Linked DNA regions of Homo sapiens: regions 1, 2, 3, 5 and 6 are each linked to region 4. Evidence: promoter capture Hi-C in 16 types of primary human blood cells and fetal thymus (Javierre and others, 2016). All regions are on one chromosome and are shown on one strand. The core of a region is centred on a gene start or on the middle of the fragment in contact, and the rest is flanking DNA. Distances in the headings are between cores, read along the strand shown. Region 1 has its middle 27 kb from the start of FBXO47. Region 2 holds the start of FBXO47 (F-box protein 47). Region 3 overlaps FBXO47 (F-box protein 47). Region 4 holds the start of CACNB1 (calcium voltage-gated channel auxiliary subunit beta 1). Region 5 has its middle 33 kb from the start of LINC02079. Region 6 holds the start of FBXL20 (F-box and leucine rich repeat protein 20).

What was found. The method cuts DNA at HindIII sites, captures the fragments that hold promoters and counts their contacts. A CHiCAGO score of 5 or more calls a contact.
Region 1: a contact is called between a fragment that was not itself captured here and the fragment with the promoter of CACNB1 in region 4, in 14 of 17 cell types (total CD8 T cells, naive CD4 T cells, monocytes and 11 more). The highest score is 9.4, in total CD8 T cells.
Region 2: a contact is called between the fragment with the promoter of FBXO47 here and the fragment with the promoter of CACNB1 in region 4, in 6 of 17 cell types (total CD8 T cells, naive CD8 T cells, activated CD4 T cells and 3 more). The highest score is 6.8, in total CD8 T cells.
Region 3: a fragment that was not itself captured here is called in contact with the fragment with the promoter of CACNB1 in region 4 in 1 of 17 cell types (monocytes); the score reaches 5.7 in monocytes.
Region 5: a contact is called between a fragment that was not itself captured here and the fragment with the promoter of CACNB1 in region 4, in 1 of 17 cell types (non-activated CD4 T cells). The highest score is 5.3, in non-activated CD4 T cells.
Region 6: the fragment with the promoter of FBXL20 here is called in contact with the fragment with the promoter of CACNB1 in region 4 in 4 of 17 cell types (megakaryocytes, naive CD4 T cells, monocytes and 1 more); the score reaches 7.9 in megakaryocytes.

Annotation. Positions count from the first base shown.
Region 1 is chr17:38,992,726-38,995,635 of GRCh38, forward strand. No RefSeq gene overlaps it. Among named protein-coding and RNA genes, the nearest start is that of FBXO47, 27 kb to the left of the region's middle. The HindIII fragment of the contact is 522 bases long and covers 1,269-1,790 here.
Region 2 is chr17:38,965,815-38,968,820 of GRCh38, forward strand. FBXO47 (F-box protein 47) reads right to left here and starts at 1,589. Exons shown (of 11, transcript NM_001008777.3): 1 at 1,415-1,589. The HindIII fragment of the contact is 5,025 bases long and covers 979-3,006 here.
Region 3 is chr17:38,943,044-38,945,743 of GRCh38, forward strand. It overlaps FBXO47 (F-box protein 47), which reads right to left. Exons shown (of 11, transcript NM_001008777.3): 7 at 1,917-2,093; 8 at 547-693. Among named protein-coding and RNA genes, the nearest start is that of LASP1NB, 19 kb to the left of the region's middle. The HindIII fragment of the contact is 2,037 bases long and covers 311-2,347 here.
Region 4 is chr17:39,196,352-39,199,298 of GRCh38, forward strand. CACNB1 (calcium voltage-gated channel auxiliary subunit beta 1) reads right to left here and starts at 1,318. Exons shown (of 14, transcript NM_000723.5): 1 at 1,061-1,318. The coding sequence starts at 1,144. RefSeq lists silencers at 516-645, 1,076-1,475, 1,486-1,615. The HindIII fragment of the contact is 8,246 bases long and covers 1-2,947 here.
Region 5 is chr17:39,058,331-39,061,030 of GRCh38, forward strand. It overlaps the pseudogene RDM1P5. Among named protein-coding and RNA genes, the nearest start is that of LINC02079, 33 kb to the left of the region's middle. The HindIII fragment of the contact is 3,067 bases long and covers 1-2,700 here.
Region 6 is chr17:39,400,192-39,403,087 of GRCh38, forward strand. It overlaps FBXL20 (F-box and leucine rich repeat protein 20), which reads right to left and starts at 1,435. Exons shown (of 15, transcript NM_032875.3): 1 at 1,170-1,435. The coding sequence starts at 1,211. RefSeq lists silencers at 688-980, 1,045-1,474, 1,505-1,704, 1,735-1,814, 2,065-2,454 and 1 more. The HindIII fragment of the contact is 7,755 bases long and covers 1-2,896 here.

The sequences.
Region 1 (2,910 bases), core at 280-2,779, 200 kb before region 4:
GATCCGCCCACTCGGCCTCCCAAAGTGCTGAGATTACAGGCGTGTGCCACCGCGCCTGTCCCATAGTTGTAAATTGTATCTCATTATTATTATTATTATTTAGAGTTGCTGTCACCGATGTTGGAGTGCAGTGTTACTTTCATAACTCACTGTAACCTTGAACTCCTGGGCTCAAGTGATCCTTCTGCCTCAGCCTCCTGAGGAGCTGGGACTACAGATGCACACTGCCATGGCTGCCTAATTCTTTTTGGTAGAGACAGTGGTCTCCCTACATTACCCAAGCTGGTCTCCAACTCCTGGCCTCAAGCAATCCTCCCACCTCAGCCTCCCAAAATGTTGGGATTACAGGCATGAGCCACTGTACCTGGCCAATGATTTTTAATTTATATTTCTCTGATTACTACTTAGGTTGGGCATCTTTTTTGTATGTTTGGTTTGTTAGTCTTTGGATTTCCTTTTTTCTGAAGGATATACCCATGTCTTCCCATTTTCCCATTGTGTTGTCTTTTTATTGATTGTGCTTCTTTCTGTATCCTAGATAATTTTTAGTCTCTTAATGGTATCTTTTCATGAACAGATGTTCTTTAGTATGAACGTAGTAGAATGTCTCAATCTTGGCACTATTGACATTTTGGGCTGGAAAATTCCTTGTTTTTTTTGTGTGTGTGACTCTGTGTGTGTGTGTGTGTGTGTGTGCGCGTGTGTGTGTGTTGGGGGCTGTCCTGTATATTGTAGGAGGTTTACCAGCATCCCTGGCCTCTGTCCATTAGATACCAATAGCACCCTTCTGCCCAAATTATGATAACCAAAAATGTCTCCAGACATTGCCGAAAGTGCCCTGGAGAGCAACATTGCCTTTCTGCCTCCTGTTTAAGAAATCCTCCACTATTCTGGTGGGGCGTGGTGGCTCACACCTGTAATCCCTGCACGTTGGCAGACTGAGGTGGGCAGATCACTGGAGGTCAGGAGTTCAAGACCAGCCTGGCCAAGGTGAAACCCCGTCTCTACTAAAAATACAAAAATTAGCCGGGCATGGTGGCACATAGCTGTAATCCCAACTACTCAGGAGGCTGAGGTAGGAGAATCGCTTGAACCTGGGAGGTGGAGGATGCAGTGAGCCGAGATTGCATCACTACGCTCCACACTCTAGCCTGGGCGACAAAGCAAGACGATGTCTAAAAAAAAAAAAAGAAAGAAAAGAAAGAAAGAAAAAGAAATCCTCCACTATTCTGAGGTCATGAAAATATTCTCTTTTATTATCTTCTAAAAGCTTTATGTTATTTTTCACTTTTCATATTTGGATTCCTGATTCACCTGGAACTGAATTTTGTATGTGGTGAAAAGTAGAGTTCGTTTTGTTTTTTTCTGTATAGATCCTCAATGTCCTAGTGCTATTTATTGCACTTATCTAACCACAAGCCCCCCTCTGTTATATGTCAAGTGGCATGGAGGCAGGTGTGTATTTCTGGGCTTTCTATTGTTTTCAGTGCTCTACTTTTCTGACCTTGCTCCAATATCACACTTCCGTAATCATTGTTGACTGTTAAAGAGGCTAGATCTGGAAAGGAAGTCCTTTTATTTTGTCTTGGCTATTCCTGGTCTTTTGTACTTTCATTTACATTTTAGAATAAGTTTGTCAAATTCTTCACAAAATCTGTTGGGATTTTGACTGAGATTGCATTGAATCTGTAGATCAATTTAAGGAGAACTGACATTTTTATAAATGTGTATCTTGCATTGCATGAACACAGTGCTCTATTTATTTTAGTATTCTTTAAATCTTTTAATAAAGCTTTATTATTTTTTCCTTAGAGAGCTCTGGCACATCTTTTGTTTGATTTATTACTCTGTACTTCATATATTTGATCCTATTATAAAGTATCTCTCTCTCTTTTTTTTTTTTTCGAGACGGAGTCTCACTCTTGTCGTCCAGGCTGGAGTGCAATGGTGCGATCTTGGCTCACTGCAACCGCTGCCTGCCAGATTCAAGCGATTCTCCTGCCTCAGCCTCCCGGGCAGCTGGGATTACAGGCGTGTGCCACCACGCCTGGCTAATTTTTGTATTTTTTAGTAGAGACGGGGTTTCAACATGTTGTCCAGGCTGGTCTCGAACTCCTGACTTCAGGTGATCCACCTGCCTCGGCCTCCCAAAGTGCTAAGATTACAGGCGTGAGCCACTACACCCGGCTACTTTACTTTTTAAACTTTTTTTTTAGATTCAGTGTCTCACTGTGTTGACCAGGCTGGTCTTGAACTCCTGGCCTCAAGCAATCCTCCCACCTCAGCCTCCCAAAATGCTAGTATTATAGGCATGAGCCAATGCACCCAGCTATAACTTTTCATTACAAAAAATTGTCAGTGTATATGAAAGGTGAAAGAACAGTACAATCAGCACACAAATACCTAGTTACAACAATTGTTAACATTTTATCATTTTTGCTTTGTCTATTTACCTTTACTTTTTTTTTTTTAATTTTAGAGACAAAGACTCACTCTGTTGCCCAGGCTGGAGTACAGTGGTGAAATCATAACTCACGGCAGCCTCAAACTCCTGGGTTCAAGGAGTGATCCTCCCACCTCAGCCTCCGGAGTAGCTGGGACTACAGGTGCATGACACTGTGCCTAGCTAATTTTAAAATATTTTGTAGAGACAGGGTTTCACTATTATCCAGGCTGGCTTCAAACTCCTGGCCTGAAGCAATCACTCCCATCTCAGCCTTTCAAAAGGCTGAGGCAACTGATGTCAGCCACCATGCCTGGCATCTGCCTGTTTATCTGTCAATCAATCATCTATCTTTTATATATACACACATACATATATACATTATATATCTATATGGAGATGGAGTCTTGCCTTGTCACCCAGGTTGGAGTGCAATGGCATGATCTCGGCTCACTGCAACCTCCGCC
Region 2 (3,006 bases), core at 339-2,838, 230 kb before region 4:
GGAGGTTGCAGTGAGCCGAGATCACACCACTGCACTCCAGCCTGGGTGACAGAGCAAGAATCTGCCTCAAAAAAAAAAAAAAATAATTACACAAATAACAACTTTACACAATACAGCTAAACAAGAAGAAAAAAATTAAGTTCACTTATAAACACTTTGGTTTATATAATTTCAGACTTTTACATACATATATTTCTTTTTAACAAAAAAGAGGGATCACTATATATAATACTTTGTAATCTGCTTTTTTCAATGAATTCTCTTTCCATGCTAATAACCTTCTACAAGTAATCATATTTTAATGGCTATGTGTCATTCCACCAAGTAAAATAATCTTAATTTGTTTAATCCATAAGGCTGTTTGTAACCTTAACTTTTCACAGTAGGCGTTTTGTTTGTTTGTTTGCGATGGAGTTTCGCACAGTCTCCTGGGCTGGAGTGCAGTGGCGCGATCTCGGCTCACTGCAAGCTCCGCCTCCCGGGTTCAAGCGATTCTCCTGCCTCAGCCTCCCTAGTAGCTGGGATTACAGGTGCCCGCCCCCACGCCCAGCTAATTTCTGTATTTTTAGTAGAGACGGGGTTTCACCGTGTTAGCCAGCCTGGTCTCGATTTCCTGACCTCGTGATCCGCCTGCCCCGGCCTCCCAAAGTGCTGGGATTTACAGGCGTGAGCCACCGCACCCGGCCAACACAGTAGGTGTTTTAAAGCATTTTTATTACAATAGCATAAATCCGGCCTTGGCTTCTTCCTGTTTCTCTGAGAAATGTGGACAGTGGGGCTTGGGCCCGTGGGCTCTTCAAAGACTGTCAGTCACCAGGCGGGGACTTCACTGTGTCAACTGTGAACTACATACATGTTTAAAATAAATATAAACAAAAATTTAAAAATGATAAGCCCAAATTCTTCTAAAACTCAAGTCTCCACTTATAGTTCCTTATTTTCCTCACTCAGAGCTGGACGTTTCGTAGGGAAAAAGCAAGCTTTTGTGAAAATTCTAAAGGTATAATCCTAAATTATTTCTGGTTTCCGCTCACCCCTCTAGCGAATAAGAATCACAGCCCCAAATAATAATAATAAAATGATGTTTCATGCCCCCTGTTCTATCCCACTAATTTTGACCGCGCGTGAAAGGTTTTGAGGGTTCAATTGGATGAACCTCCCCGCCCCCCACACCTTTAAGATAAAAACTACATTCACAGGGATGTCTGTTTTAACATAAAACTCTTGTAAGGGCCCCACCCCATCTGTCGGGCAGCTGCCCCCAAACATCTCCAAAGCCGCAAACTAGGGAAGCCTAAAGGACAAACTGGTCAACAGGAGAATCAGACCACACGGGGTACATGTTTCGCTCCCTTCAGTCCATGAAAGATGAAATTATCGCAATAAAATACTGGGAAAAAAAACCCTCTTTTACCACAGATTTTGACAGTTTTTCCGGCTACAGAGTCACAGGAAAGTGGGAGTTAGTCGTTTTGCCCCACCATCCTCAAATTTCTTAGTGTTTAGAAAAGAAAATATCTCCTCAAGAGCTTCCCGCCAGGAGGCGAGAGGGTCACACTCCCGTAGGCTCCGGAGCTGCAGCCCTACCCACCAGGCGTCCCCGCGGCCTCTAGAATATTGTAGAATCTTCCCAAGAGCCCCCGCGGGAAGGAGGCCCGCCCCCTCATGAATAGCAAGCAGCCTCAGCTCTCGTAGTGCCCGCCTCCCTCATGAATATTGTAGATCTTCCCAGAAGCCCTAGCGGGAAGGAGGTTCCCCCCCGCCTCCCGCCTCCCCGCTTTATGAATAGCAAGAGAGCCAGCTCCCATGGTGCCCTCCGTCTCATGAATAACTAACAAGGGCGAGGTTCCTGGAGCCCAAACTCAGGCCTCAGCCACCCTTCGCTCCAAGCTGAAGACAAGAAGGGGCTGGAGCCGTTACGGTGTGGGGAAGGGGAGGGTGTAGCCCAAGATCCTGAACGTGGCGAGCCACGTCTCTGCTCCACTGCCTTTCCCTTCACCTAGTTTTGAGACAATTTTTGAGTTCCTCCCACCCCCACTGACTCCAGTAGGGCAAGTTACAAGGGGTTTCATCAAACCTTTTGGTGGAAAAAAACCTCCAGACATTCCTTTTTAAATTTGTCTTGCCGGTGCGGTGGCTCACGCCTGTAATCCCAACACTTTGGGAGGCCGAGGCGGGAGGCTCCCTTGAGTCCAGGAGTTTGAGACCAGCCTGGGCAACATAGGGAGACCCCCACCCCCAGCCATAACCCCGCTCCCGGTCTCTAAATAAACACATAAATAATAAATCTGTCTGGAATCAAAGGAAGATGTGTGTCTCCATCCTCTCAAGATGAAATCAAGACAAATCTTTCTAGCTAGGCCTTCCTGGCTAGAAGATTAAATTCTCATTCATTCATTTCTTCATTCATTCTGTAACTATTTATTGAAGCCTGCTCTGGGCCGGGCACAGGAGTAGGCCCTAAGGATGGAATAGAGAACAAGACAGATACGTTTCCTGCTTTAATGGAGTTTATTAGCCTAATGGGGAAGATAGAATGAACAGACAGAGCATCTACAGATGTTGAGAGCAGTTCCGGTGAGAGCAGCGTGACAGAGGAAATAAGACAGAATGATGGGGTGTGTGTGTGTTGGCGGAGAGCTACTTTAGATAGACTGATACTCAAGGTCCCTTTGATATGACGATTTGAGAACTGATGGAGGAGAAGGAGCCAGTCAGGAGAAGGGCTGAGGGAAGAGGGAATGGGGGAAAGATTCTACTTTTGTAGATCAATTCTACATTATACCCAACACAAAATATATAAGGAACTACATAAAGACTGAGTGGAAATTTAGGATTAGTTGGCATGCTGTTATTTTATATAGTCACATATATTCATCCATTTGGCTTTGTATCTTTTTTTTTCCTGACCTCAGGTGACCTGCGTACCTCAGCACTGCAAAGTGCTGGGATTACAGGTGTGAGCCACCACTCCTGGCCTTTTTTTTTTTTTTTTTTTTTTTTGAG
Region 3 (2,700 bases), core at 79-2,578, 250 kb before region 4:
GAAAAAAATGCTCTAGTTTTCCAATTATGGCATTCAGTCAGAGACAGGTTATTGCCATGTCATGGAGGCTCTTACAAATGTACTAATAATATAAACAAAGCAATTCTCCTACACATAGGTCAGCAGGCAAAGTGTTCTAATCCTGTGCAAGGAAAGCATCCTTGTAAACTTTAGAATCTAAAGGATTATGCAGGAATAGGAATAATTGTTTCACCTTTCCTTTACTCACAGAAGAGGGCTTTTTACAGAACCTAGGAGGGTGTTTCTGAGAATTTACAACATGGGAGTAATTGAGCTAATTAAATGAAGAAGCTTTCAAATAATAATAATAATAAATGTTTATTTATAAAATTGGCAAGCAAAGGAAAGTAAGTTGATTATATGCATTCTCTTCAAACATAATGCCAAACTCTTTAAATATTTTAGAGCATTCAGTGATTTCCAACAGGCACATCATTTGTTACCTGTAGAATTATCCTTATAATTTTATAACTGCATTTTAACAATAAATTTCTATTATTCTATGTTAGTAAATATATTTTTTACCTGATAGTTCATCTACAAGACTGATAACATCATCTGCTGTCCACTCTTTAGTGCTAGCGTCATATAGTAACTTAATGGCATCAGCCAAACCTTTCAGACTGAATTCATCTGTAGGTTCTTCTATCATTTCCTGCCAAACCACCTGTCCTGAATTGAAACAAAAACGAGGCTATGACAGAATAGTTGGCTTTGTGATAAAGACTTGTTTAAAAAGGAAAGTGAATTGCACAATGGAATCCCATTACTTATACAAGCTACTTTCATTTTAACTTTTGAAACAAGAAGTCAATTCTGGTAATAGTATAGATTTGAACGTCTCTGGCCGGGCGTGGTGGCTCATGCCTGTAATCCCAGCACTTTAGGAGGCCGAGGTAGGAGGATCACTTGAGGTACGGAGTTCGAGACCAGCCTGTGAAACCCTGTCTCTACTAAAAATATAAAAATTAGCCAGGCATGGTGGTGCACGCCTGTAGTCCCAGCTACTCAGGAGGCTGAGGCACGAGAATCGCTTGAACCTGGGAGGCGGAGGTTGCAGTGAGTGGAGATTGGGCCACTGAACTCCAGCCTGGGCAACACAGCGAGACTCTGTCTCAAAAAAAACATGTGTGTGTGTGTGTGTGTGTGTGTGTGTGTGTGTGTGTGTGTATGCTTCTTGGCCAGGCACAGTAGCTCATGTATGTAATTCTAGCACTTGGGGAGGCCAAGGTGGGAGGATCACTTGAGCCCAAGAGGTTGAGAGCAACCTGGGTACCAAAGTGGGACCCTGCAGGAGATCGAGACCATCCTGGATAACACGGTGAAACCCCGTCTTTACTAAAAATACAAAAAACTGGCCAGGCGCGGTGGCTCACATCTGTAATCCCAGCACTTTGGAAGGCCGAGGTGGGAAGATCACAAGGTCAGGAGATCGAGACCATTCTGGCTAACACGGTGAAACCCCATCTCTACTAAAAATACAAAAAATTAGCCAGGCATGGTGGCAGGCGCCTGTAATCCCAGCTACTCGGGTGGCTGAGGCAGGAGAATGGTGTGAACCCGGGAATTGGAGCTCGCAGTGAGCCGAGATTGCGCCACTGCACTCCAGCCTGGGTGACAGAGCAGACTCCGTCTCAAAAAAAAAAAAAAAAAAAAATTAGCTGGTTGTGGTTGCACGCACCTGCAGTCCCAGCTACTTGGGAGGCTGAGGCAGGAGAATCGCTTGAACCCGGGAGGTGGAGGTTGCAGTGAGCCATGATCGCACCACTGTGTGCGTGCATGCATGTGTGTGTGTGTGTGTGTGTGTATAATATATGCTTCCTAAATATATATATGCTTCCTAAAGTAAAAATAATGAACCAGTTATGTTACAACCCTGAAAGATGGGTGCTCACCATCTTGAGGAGATATTGGCCCAAAGATGATATACAGTAATCTTGCCTGATTCACCATTGGCCATGGTTTTAATATTCGCGTCAACCAAAAAGCAGAATCACTTCGATGTGTCCAATGATCAAGGAGGACATTCCTACAGAAGAGTCTGATTCTTAACTCCAGTTTTTGGGCACTTCCTATGAAGACAAAAGAATTGTAAATCATTCTTCGTAGAAAGGCTGCTGTGCATATTGAATAGTGATCAAAGCAACTTATTAATCATTATGGTTAGTGATAGTAAACTAGGTTTCTAAACAGGAAGTAACCAAGAGATTATCTATTCTTAAACTCCCCTAACTTCATAATTTGTCTATCTACTTACTTACTTTTACCTTCCTGATTTATAGTCAATATTTTGAATAATGGGTCAATCAATCAAAAGACATGCTTAAGCTTACCAGACTCTTGTACAATTTTGGATTTAAAAAGAAATAAATGCAGAGAAAGGTCAAAGACATATATCATTAATATACTTTGTACTGAAAGTGTCACTTCATTTTCCTCTATGAAAGTTTTATGGCAGGTGTGGTGACTCTTGCCTGTAATGCCAGCACGTTGTGAAGCCGAGGTGGGAGGATCACTTGAGGTCAGGAGTTCAAGACCAGCCTGGCCAATATGGCGAAACCCTGTCTCTACTAAAAATACAAAAAAAATTGGCCGGGTGCCGTGGCTCACACCTGTAATCCCAGCACTTTGGGAGGCTGAGGCGGGCAGATCACGAGGTCAGGAGATCGAGACCAACCT
Region 4 (2,947 bases), core at 68-2,567:
GCTGGGCAAAGGGAGTGGCACTCAGAGGGACAGGGGACAGCTGAAAGGAAGGCCCCAGTCAGCTGCCTCCCAGGCTCAAAGGGGCCTGGGGTGGAGGAAGGTATTTTTAGGTCTGACTTGACCCCTCTACATACCCATCAGTCACATTATCATGGTGGTTACAGCTGGTGGCCACAGTAACAGAAGAGTTAATGCTATCCTTGGAGAAGGACACTCCCAAAGAAATCCCCTGGCGCGACCATCCCAGAGCCTGCTGGTCACCCCATGAGAACCCACCGCGCCCAAGAATGCCACTTCCTGGGAGTAACCAGGGGTGTAGGAAAAGTGTGCGGGTGGGGATGGAGAAGTAGACCCCTCCCCCAGGTAAAACAGCTTCCCCCCCTCCTATGAGTTGGCATCCATCCAACTTTCCAAACTTTGGAGGCGTTTTTGGGGCGGGGGTGGGGGTGGGGTAAGTCAACGTGGGTGTGGGGGGAGGGGAGCAGGTCCGACATAGAGATGGAGCCCAGGTGGCTGGGAGGGGACCTCGACCGGGGTTGGCTCTTTCCCCACCCTCGAGAACCAGTGTCTGCGGCTTTGAAGGCCTGTTGGCATTTGGCACCGCCCTCTGACCATCGCCTCGGCCACCTCCTCGTGCCACCCCCGCCCCACCCACACCCGCCTGGCGCCCCCGAGCGTGCTCTGCGTCGCCCCCCTTGCCTGGCTCGCTTTCTAGCCTCTTTCAACCTCCCCTTCTCAAGGCCCAGATCCCCCTCCACCAGCACCCCCACGCTCAGCCCACTGAAGCTGGTGCCCAAGCGGCAGGAACCTTGACGCGGGGGAGATAAGGAGGCGAGGGTGACAGGCAGCCCACCCGCCCCCTCCCCGCTCCGCAGCATCGCCACCCAGCCCCAGGCCCAGCGCCCATCAATCACAACCTGCAAGGATGGGGGGCGCGCAGGCATCCCTCTCTCCTCCGCGCCCGGCATATAACCCCTTCCTCTCCCGCGCCTCTCGAGCCGACCTTAACACGGTCCGCGGGAGCGACCCCCTCCCGTTGGGCCGGGCCACCACGCCTCACCTGCGGGCTGGGGTCGAAGACCTCCATGGGGATCTCCTGGGAGGGTGGGTAAGGGCCCCGGGACATGCTGGTCTTCTGGACCATGGAGAGGAGCCTCCCCTCCCGCCGCCGGCCCGGCCCAGCCGGGCTCCCTCAGCGCATGGGAGAGGCCGTGGGAGCCGAAAGCAGCGCGGCGCAGCCAGCACCCGGTCCAGCCACCCAGCTCGGCCTTCGGCTGCCTCCTTCCTGCCTTCCCTCGCTCCTCCCGCTCTCTCCACTGCCGCCGCCGCCTCCCCCGTAGGCTCAGCATCTCCCCGCGCCCCTCCCTCGCTCCCTCCCTCCGCCCGCCCGGCCCCGCCCCTCGCAGCCCCTCCGCCGGCTCGGCGCACACAATGGGCGTGCGGCAGCAGGGAGGCAAGCCCCTCTCGGCTCTAGGTGGCCGCAGGTGGGCCTCTGACTGGCCGTGGGGTGCAGGCGGCCCGCTGGGGCGGGAAGGCAGAAACTAGGCGTGGAACTTGGGGGAGGGGTGGGGGGGCGGTCTACCAGTGGATGCCGAGCGCTGATGGGGATTGGCATGGCTGGCACCACCCCCCTTTTGTCCCAAACCTCTCTTCCTGCGGGTCCCCCCAACCCACTCCTGTTTGGACCACCGGAACTTCCCGGTCCCGGTGATCCTGGGACCTGGCTTTAACTCCTTTCTCCCCAGTGTGGGGCCCAGGCTGCCTCAAACCAAACAGAAAAGCCTCTCCCTCCAACATGGCTCTGGGGCTGCCGGTGGGAGGCTGAGGCTGAGATGGGGAGGGTGTCCAATAGAGACAGCAAAATAAATCCCAGGGGTCCAGGAGTTCTGCCCTAATCAGTCACTAGGATACACCGCCCCCCCAACCCCTGTTCTTCCAAAAGGCCAGGAATGGGGCTGGGTGAGGTCCCTGCTCTTGGATGAGAAAAGAGGAAGAAATATGGAGCTGAGAGAGGAGAAGCTGGTAAAATCAGATCTCATGACCTTTGACCTAGAATTGCGCCACCTTTACCCCTGATTTAGGGAGAAACATCCAAGATCTGGATGCCACCCACCATGACTGGTGGAGAGAAGAGGAATAGGAGATTCTGGGCAATAGACTCTGGCGCCAATTTGGCTCAGGCTGTTTCTGGTTGTATAGCCCCGGACAAATCACCTCTCTGAGCATCAGTTTCCTCCTCTCCTATAAAATGGGGTTGCTGGTACTGTGGAGTCTGTGTCACCTGGTATTATTGGGAGGATGAGGGAGAATTAAATGAATTGCTGGGGTGTTTGGAGAAGCTGTAAGTTTCAATGAAGGGGTCACTCATGACAGGAGGACCCATTCCCTTCCTACTCCACCCCTTCTCCTGCTCCACAGAAAGGAGAGATGGAGAAGACCCTCTCCAGGTCAAGTGACCTTACAATAAGGCCACCACCTTGCTGTGTTCCGCAGGACAGGAGACTATGGGACTCCTCCTCCTCACCCAACTCTAATAGCAAGTGAATGGTCAGTCTGTCATTCCTCTGATCACAACACCTTGGGGAAGGCGGAGCAGTGAGTGAAGATGAAGCCCATTAGAAACGTTCCAGGAGAGTTCCAACCCTGAGCAGGGTTTCCACCTGCCCCTTGGAGACAAGAAAGGCTGGCATAACCGCAAAAGTATGGGCTTTGCAATCAGAAATATCTGTGTTCTGAATCTGTTACCTTAGCTGTAAAATGAGGGCAACGCTAATCGTGTTGTTGTGAGGAAGTAGCATAAATGTTGCTTCCCTTTCTCTCTCTTCTACTTTCTCAGCCAGGAAAGTTGAGATGAAACGGATAGGGTGATCAGCAGGAACCAATCATGAGTTGGAGCCTCAATTCAGATGTAGACTTCTTAAACCCCAGAATGTTCTTCTTGGATTTT
Region 5 (2,700 bases), core at 194-2,693, 140 kb before region 4:
TGAGACCCCATCTCTACAGAAAAAATTTAAAGATCAGGCTGGGCACGGTGGCTCATGCCTGTAATCCCAGCAGTTTGGGAGACTGAGTCGGACGGGTCACTTGAGACCAGGAGTTCGAGAGCAGCCTTGGCAATATGGCAAAACTCTATCTGTACTAAAAATACAAAAACATACAGTTCCCTATTGCGCTGTGCCTCAGTGGCCTCCTGTGTAGGGTAGAGGTAGCAACAGCACCCACCCCATAGATGACGATACAAGTAAATCTCCTAAAATGTGCTTGGAACATAGGAAACACCCAGTAAATGTGAGCTGCCGGCAGCACCACCAGCAGTACCATCCCAGAGTCCAAAAGTCAGTAGACCAGGACCTTTGGTTTTAAGTAATGTTTACCTCTGCCTAATTTTGTTAGTTGTGGCTCCTTCTTCACGGCTAAAGAGGGCTAAGTGCTTGTCTACAGAGGCAGAGGGAAGAGTGAGCACAGCTGGGAGGATTCTGCTCAGTCTGTAATGGGCCTGGGGGAGAAGAGCCCCAGGGAACAGAGAGGGGTGTCAGCAGCTGTAGAGAGGGGATGCTCCATCCGGGCGTGGTGGCTCACACCTATAATCCCAACACTTTGGGAGGCTGAGATGGGAGGATTGCTTGAGCCCAGGAGTTCAAGATCAGCCTAGGCAGAAAAACAAGACCCCATCTCTACAAAAAATAAAATAATTAGCCAGGCATGATGGTTCCCACCTGTAGTCCCAGCTACTTGGAAGGCGGAGGTGGGAGGATCACTTTAGCCCAGGAATTCAAGGCTGCAGTGAGCCATGATTGCATCGCTGAACTGAATCCTGGACAACAGACTGAGACCCTGTCTCTAAAAAAAAAAGAAAGAAAAAAAAAGAGAGAGAAAAGGGAGGCTCTGAGAACGGGAAGGTAGGCCCTACAGGAGGCTGCCCTTTTGGCCTTGAGGAGGGGCTCTTGGAATTGCTTAATGTTCCTTAGGAGAGCAGAGTCAGTGCACAGGTTTGCTGAGAGCAGCATCTTCATCTCTTAATTAAAAATGGGATCTAAGGCCGGGCACAATGGCTCATGCCTGTAATCCCAGCACTTTGGGAGGCTGAGGTGGTCGTATCACTTGAGGCCAGGAGTTCAAGACCAGCCTGGCCAACCTGGAGAAACCCTGTCTCTACTACAAATACAAAAATTGACTGGGTGCAGTGGCTCATGCCTGTAATCCCAGCACTTTGGAAGGCCAAGTAGGGCGGATCACCTGAGGTCGGGAGTTCGAGACCAGCCTGACCAACGTGGAGAAACCCCATCTCTACTAAAAATACAAAATTAGCTGGGCGTGGTGGTGCATGTCTATAATCCCCGCTACTCGGGATGGTGAGGCAGGAGAATCGCTTGAACCCGGGAGGTGGAGGTTGCAGTGAGCCGAGGTCACGCCACTGCACTCCAGCCTGAGCAACAAGAGCGAAACTCCATCTCAAACACACACACACACACACACACAAATACACACAAATTAGCCGTGCATGGTGGCACACACCTGTGGTCCCAGCTACTCAGGAGGCTGAGGCAGGAGAATCGCTTGAACCCAGGAGGCAAAGGCTGCAGTGAGCCGAGATCATGCTACGGCACTCCAGTCTGGGCAACAGAGCAAGACCCTGTCTCAAAACACAAAGAAACAAAACCACACAAACTTTGAGGGGGAGAGACTGAAAAAGGGGAAAGACAAGCTGGAAGGGAAGGTTCTAACCCAAGACTCTGGGAAGGTATGATGAAATTTTATTGGCCCATATTCAGGTGATTTTTTTTTCAGTGCTTTTAGCTTTGTGGAAAACTGTAGGCATAATTTAGCTATCTCTAGGGACCAAATGTAAAAATGTTTTATGAACATCAGAAAAATCATTCCCCACAAAATTTCTCTCTGGATTTCACAGTTGAAGTAAAGATTCTACCCCTCTTCCTTCCTCCCTGCACCTCTGGCCCCATCTTGGCGAAGGAAGTAATCCATTGTCCTCCATCCAAGAAGATAAATTAGATGGAGGCATCGCCTGGTGCTCTGTAAGGCTTGTGAGGAGTACTTCTAATTCTTCATGTGGGAGGGTCGCTAGTGTGAGCAGCGGGATGAGAAGGAGGCAGCAACAACTAGGACATTCTCAAGCTCCTGGGACTGTGCAAATAAATAGATGGTAAGCTCACAGTTTCGTGAGCCAAGAGCGAGGATCTGAAGTCATCACTAGGCATCTCTTCGAGGATCTCTACAGGCCTGGAGCAGTCTGTCTGTCATAATCCATAATCTGCTTCTATATTAAACTGTGGCCATGTGGTTCTGGCAACACCCTGAGGTACACAGAGAACAACCTCAGATGGGAATCCAAAAATCTGCACTTGGGGTTTTTCTCTACTTACTAGCTGTGTGACCTTGTGCAAGTCACTTAATGGTGCCTGGCACACAGGCGTTTAATGAATGTGGATCAAGTGAATAAATAAGTAAGCCACCTCCCTGAGCCTCAGTTTCCTCATCTGGGAAAGGAAAAACAGTGCTTCTCCAACAGGCTGCGATCATGTAGGTAGAATTGCTTCCTAAATGGTGCATCTCAAACTTTCATGCCCTTCACAGGAGTCACCTAAGGAGCTGCTCAAATGCAGATTCGGACTCAGTAGTTCTGGGGTTGGGGGGCCTGAGTGCTGCATTTCCAGCTAACCCCAGGG
Region 6 (2,896 bases), core at 185-2,684, 200 kb after region 4:
ACACTGAAGCTCTGAACTTAAACTGCACCCAAAACACTTCCTATCTTGATCTTCGTGGATCAATTCAAATTATTTCCCAGTTCGCATAATAAGAAATCAAAGAATAGATTAAACTGACAACCCTTAAAAGTTTTCACACCCTGAACCTAGTTGTCGAGTTTCTTAAACTTTTGTCTCGCCGTCTTACAATTTCATCTCTCAAATGGAGATGAAGAAAAACACCGAGTGAGATTGTCCACTGAGCTGTGAGTGATCCCAGGTCAGCCTGGTTCTCTGCCAGAAAAGACCAGGTGACATTTACTCTTCCTGTAGAAGTTTCTTTCTCTTGACCCTCAAGGAACCTTCCAGTATATTGTTATACTACTGTAATTCATCAGTAGTTACAATATTTCACTTCCCAAAGGAATCTCTTCCTTGCAAGATGACTACTCTCTAAAGACGCTTTCAAGACCGTCCACTCCTCAATTCCAGGACAGTAAACCTCCCTCGCTAGAGGAGAAAAAGTTCCTGAAAGACAGACCGGAATGGATTTGCTGAACTTTCGTCCCAATCTCAAAGCATGTAGACATCCAAGGGTTCCCAAGGAACAATGAGCTACAGAAGTACAGACTAAACGGGAAAGCAGAGGAAGTATCAGAACAATACCCAAACCAAACACAGCACCGAAAACCCGTGGTAGCCTCTATCATCCCAAACTACCGTCCCCACTTCCCTAGTTTCACCAAGGTCTCAAACTCGGAGAAATGGTACCCATCCCCTAATTTCCTCCCTCAACAGACAACAAACGCGTCATGAAGGTAGCAGCGAGAAAAGCAGCAGGCTCTGGTGGACCGGAGCCGTGATGGCTGGGTGGAAGGAGGCAAGCCAAGGGTTGTGTAAAGAATGGAAAGCTGAGCGATCCTGGAGGAGGGTGGAATTAGGGCGCCCGAGCTAATCCCCCGCGGGGGCCCGCTGGTGGGAAGAGACGGGGGGCGAACCGGCGAGGGGACTGGGGGCACCGGGCTGCGCTGGGCTTCTGGGTCGCAAGAAAGGGGAGCGGAGTCTGGCAGCCCCGCCAGTGGGTGGGTGACGGCGCCTGCCAGGGAGGAGGCTCCGTGCGGAGCGGACGTTTTGGGATTAGAGCGCGCGACCCGCCCTCCTCACGCCGCCCGAGCCCCCCAAGCTCACACCTCAAACCTGCTCTTGGTCACTCCGTTCACGTCCCTCCTCATGGGGCCGGCGGGTGCGGCCCGGGCCGGGCGCTGCGGCGAGCGGAGTGCACAGACCGGGGGCCCAGGACAGGCCCGGGAGTTCCGGGACGGGGACTGGGCGCCGGAGGGGTGACGCCGGGACCGTGGGACGGGAACAAGAGACCTCTCGGCTCCGGCTAGGCCTCCACCACCTCCCGCGGCGCCGGCGGCCGCAACGACTGCTCGTCGCTAGCTCGGCTCTCTCCTCAGCCTCAACTTCAACCCAAAACAAAAACACTCCCCACCTGCCAGCAACGCCGCTGCTCATTGGACAGAGCCGCCCGGGCCTCGGAGCGCCCGGGAGGGGGAGGGGCGGGAGGGGAGGAGCGCGGCGGCGGCGGCGCGAGACCACCCCTCCCCCACACGGGGCCGGCCCTGACGGCGCTCCCGGGAGCAGCCGGTGCGCGGCGGCGGCACGACCCCCTGCGCCTCCGAGGCAGACGAGCCCATCGGGAGAAGGCGAGGCAGGGAAGTGCCTGTGCGTGTGGAAAAGGGGGTCTGTGGGGCGGATGCGAGTGCGCGCGTGCTCGCGGACCAGCGAGGGAGAGTAGAGCAGTACCGCACTCTGCGCGGGGGCCCCTCTTCTGCCCCGTGTCCCCCTCTCCTCCCTCCGCGGGCAAACAGGCACGCACCTGCCTGCACAGAACCTCAGCCTCTGCCCGCGCCCGTCGCCCCTCGTCACTTGTTCCCCAGGATCCTGTAAGGCACCCGCATCCTTCCCGGCCACCCAGCTCCCTTCCCCTGTCACTCACTGTCGCCTTGAACCCAAAGTGCAGCAGGCGGTCCCTGCTCGGAGCCATTTTCCTCCTCTTCTGGATGTGTCTAGATTGGGGCAGTGCGGCTGCCGCCGCGCCTCCGCGGTTGCCGCCGCCGCCGCCTCCCCCGCCTCCCCCGCCCCAGTGCATTACATTACGGGGTGCTGCAGGGAGGCCTGGGGGGCCGGGGCCGGACGCTTGTCTCCCTGTGCATGGCTCGGGAGGGCGAGGGTGGTTGCGCTGAGCAACAGGCCAAGTGCCCGCCCTGGTCCGGGGATGGCTGCGGAGCTGCACCTGAGGCCGGGGGTCGGGGGTGCAGGGCTGGAGCCGGGCAACCCTTCCTTTGGCCGGGGTCGGGGCGCGCGTCCGTGGGGGTGGGGCGGGCGAGACCGAAGAGCCTTTGGTTTTCCTTGCTCGGCCGCCGCCGGCGCCCAATGGGCTGCAGCGCCTGCCTGTCCGCCAATCAGGGCGCTGTTTGGTGAGAGCTTCGGCCTGACGTCACTTTGGCGGGAGAAACAAGCGTGTGTGAGCGAGTAGGCGGGGGCGTTTTCCCGATGGAAACACTTCATCAGACTCCCGGGCTCCTTGTATAGAAGCTGATCTGTGTCATCATATTATATTATGTTTTAACAACTCTGGCCTTCAAGGTCTCAGAATTTATGACCGAATTTCCACGAAGGAATAACACAGGATTTTGTAGTTTTGTTGCCCCTTCTATGAGCAACAAACTACAAAATTATGTCCTAAGAGTGAACTATTAGAAACTGTATAATAAATTCCAGCACACCTGGCAGGAGCAGCAGCACTGCTAATTGTATGCTTCCAAAGCAGTTATGAGTTGGTCTTCCTCACACCCCTTTTAATTAGTGGTTTTAGCGACTGACTTGTTATGCGTCTAAGAAATTAACAAGA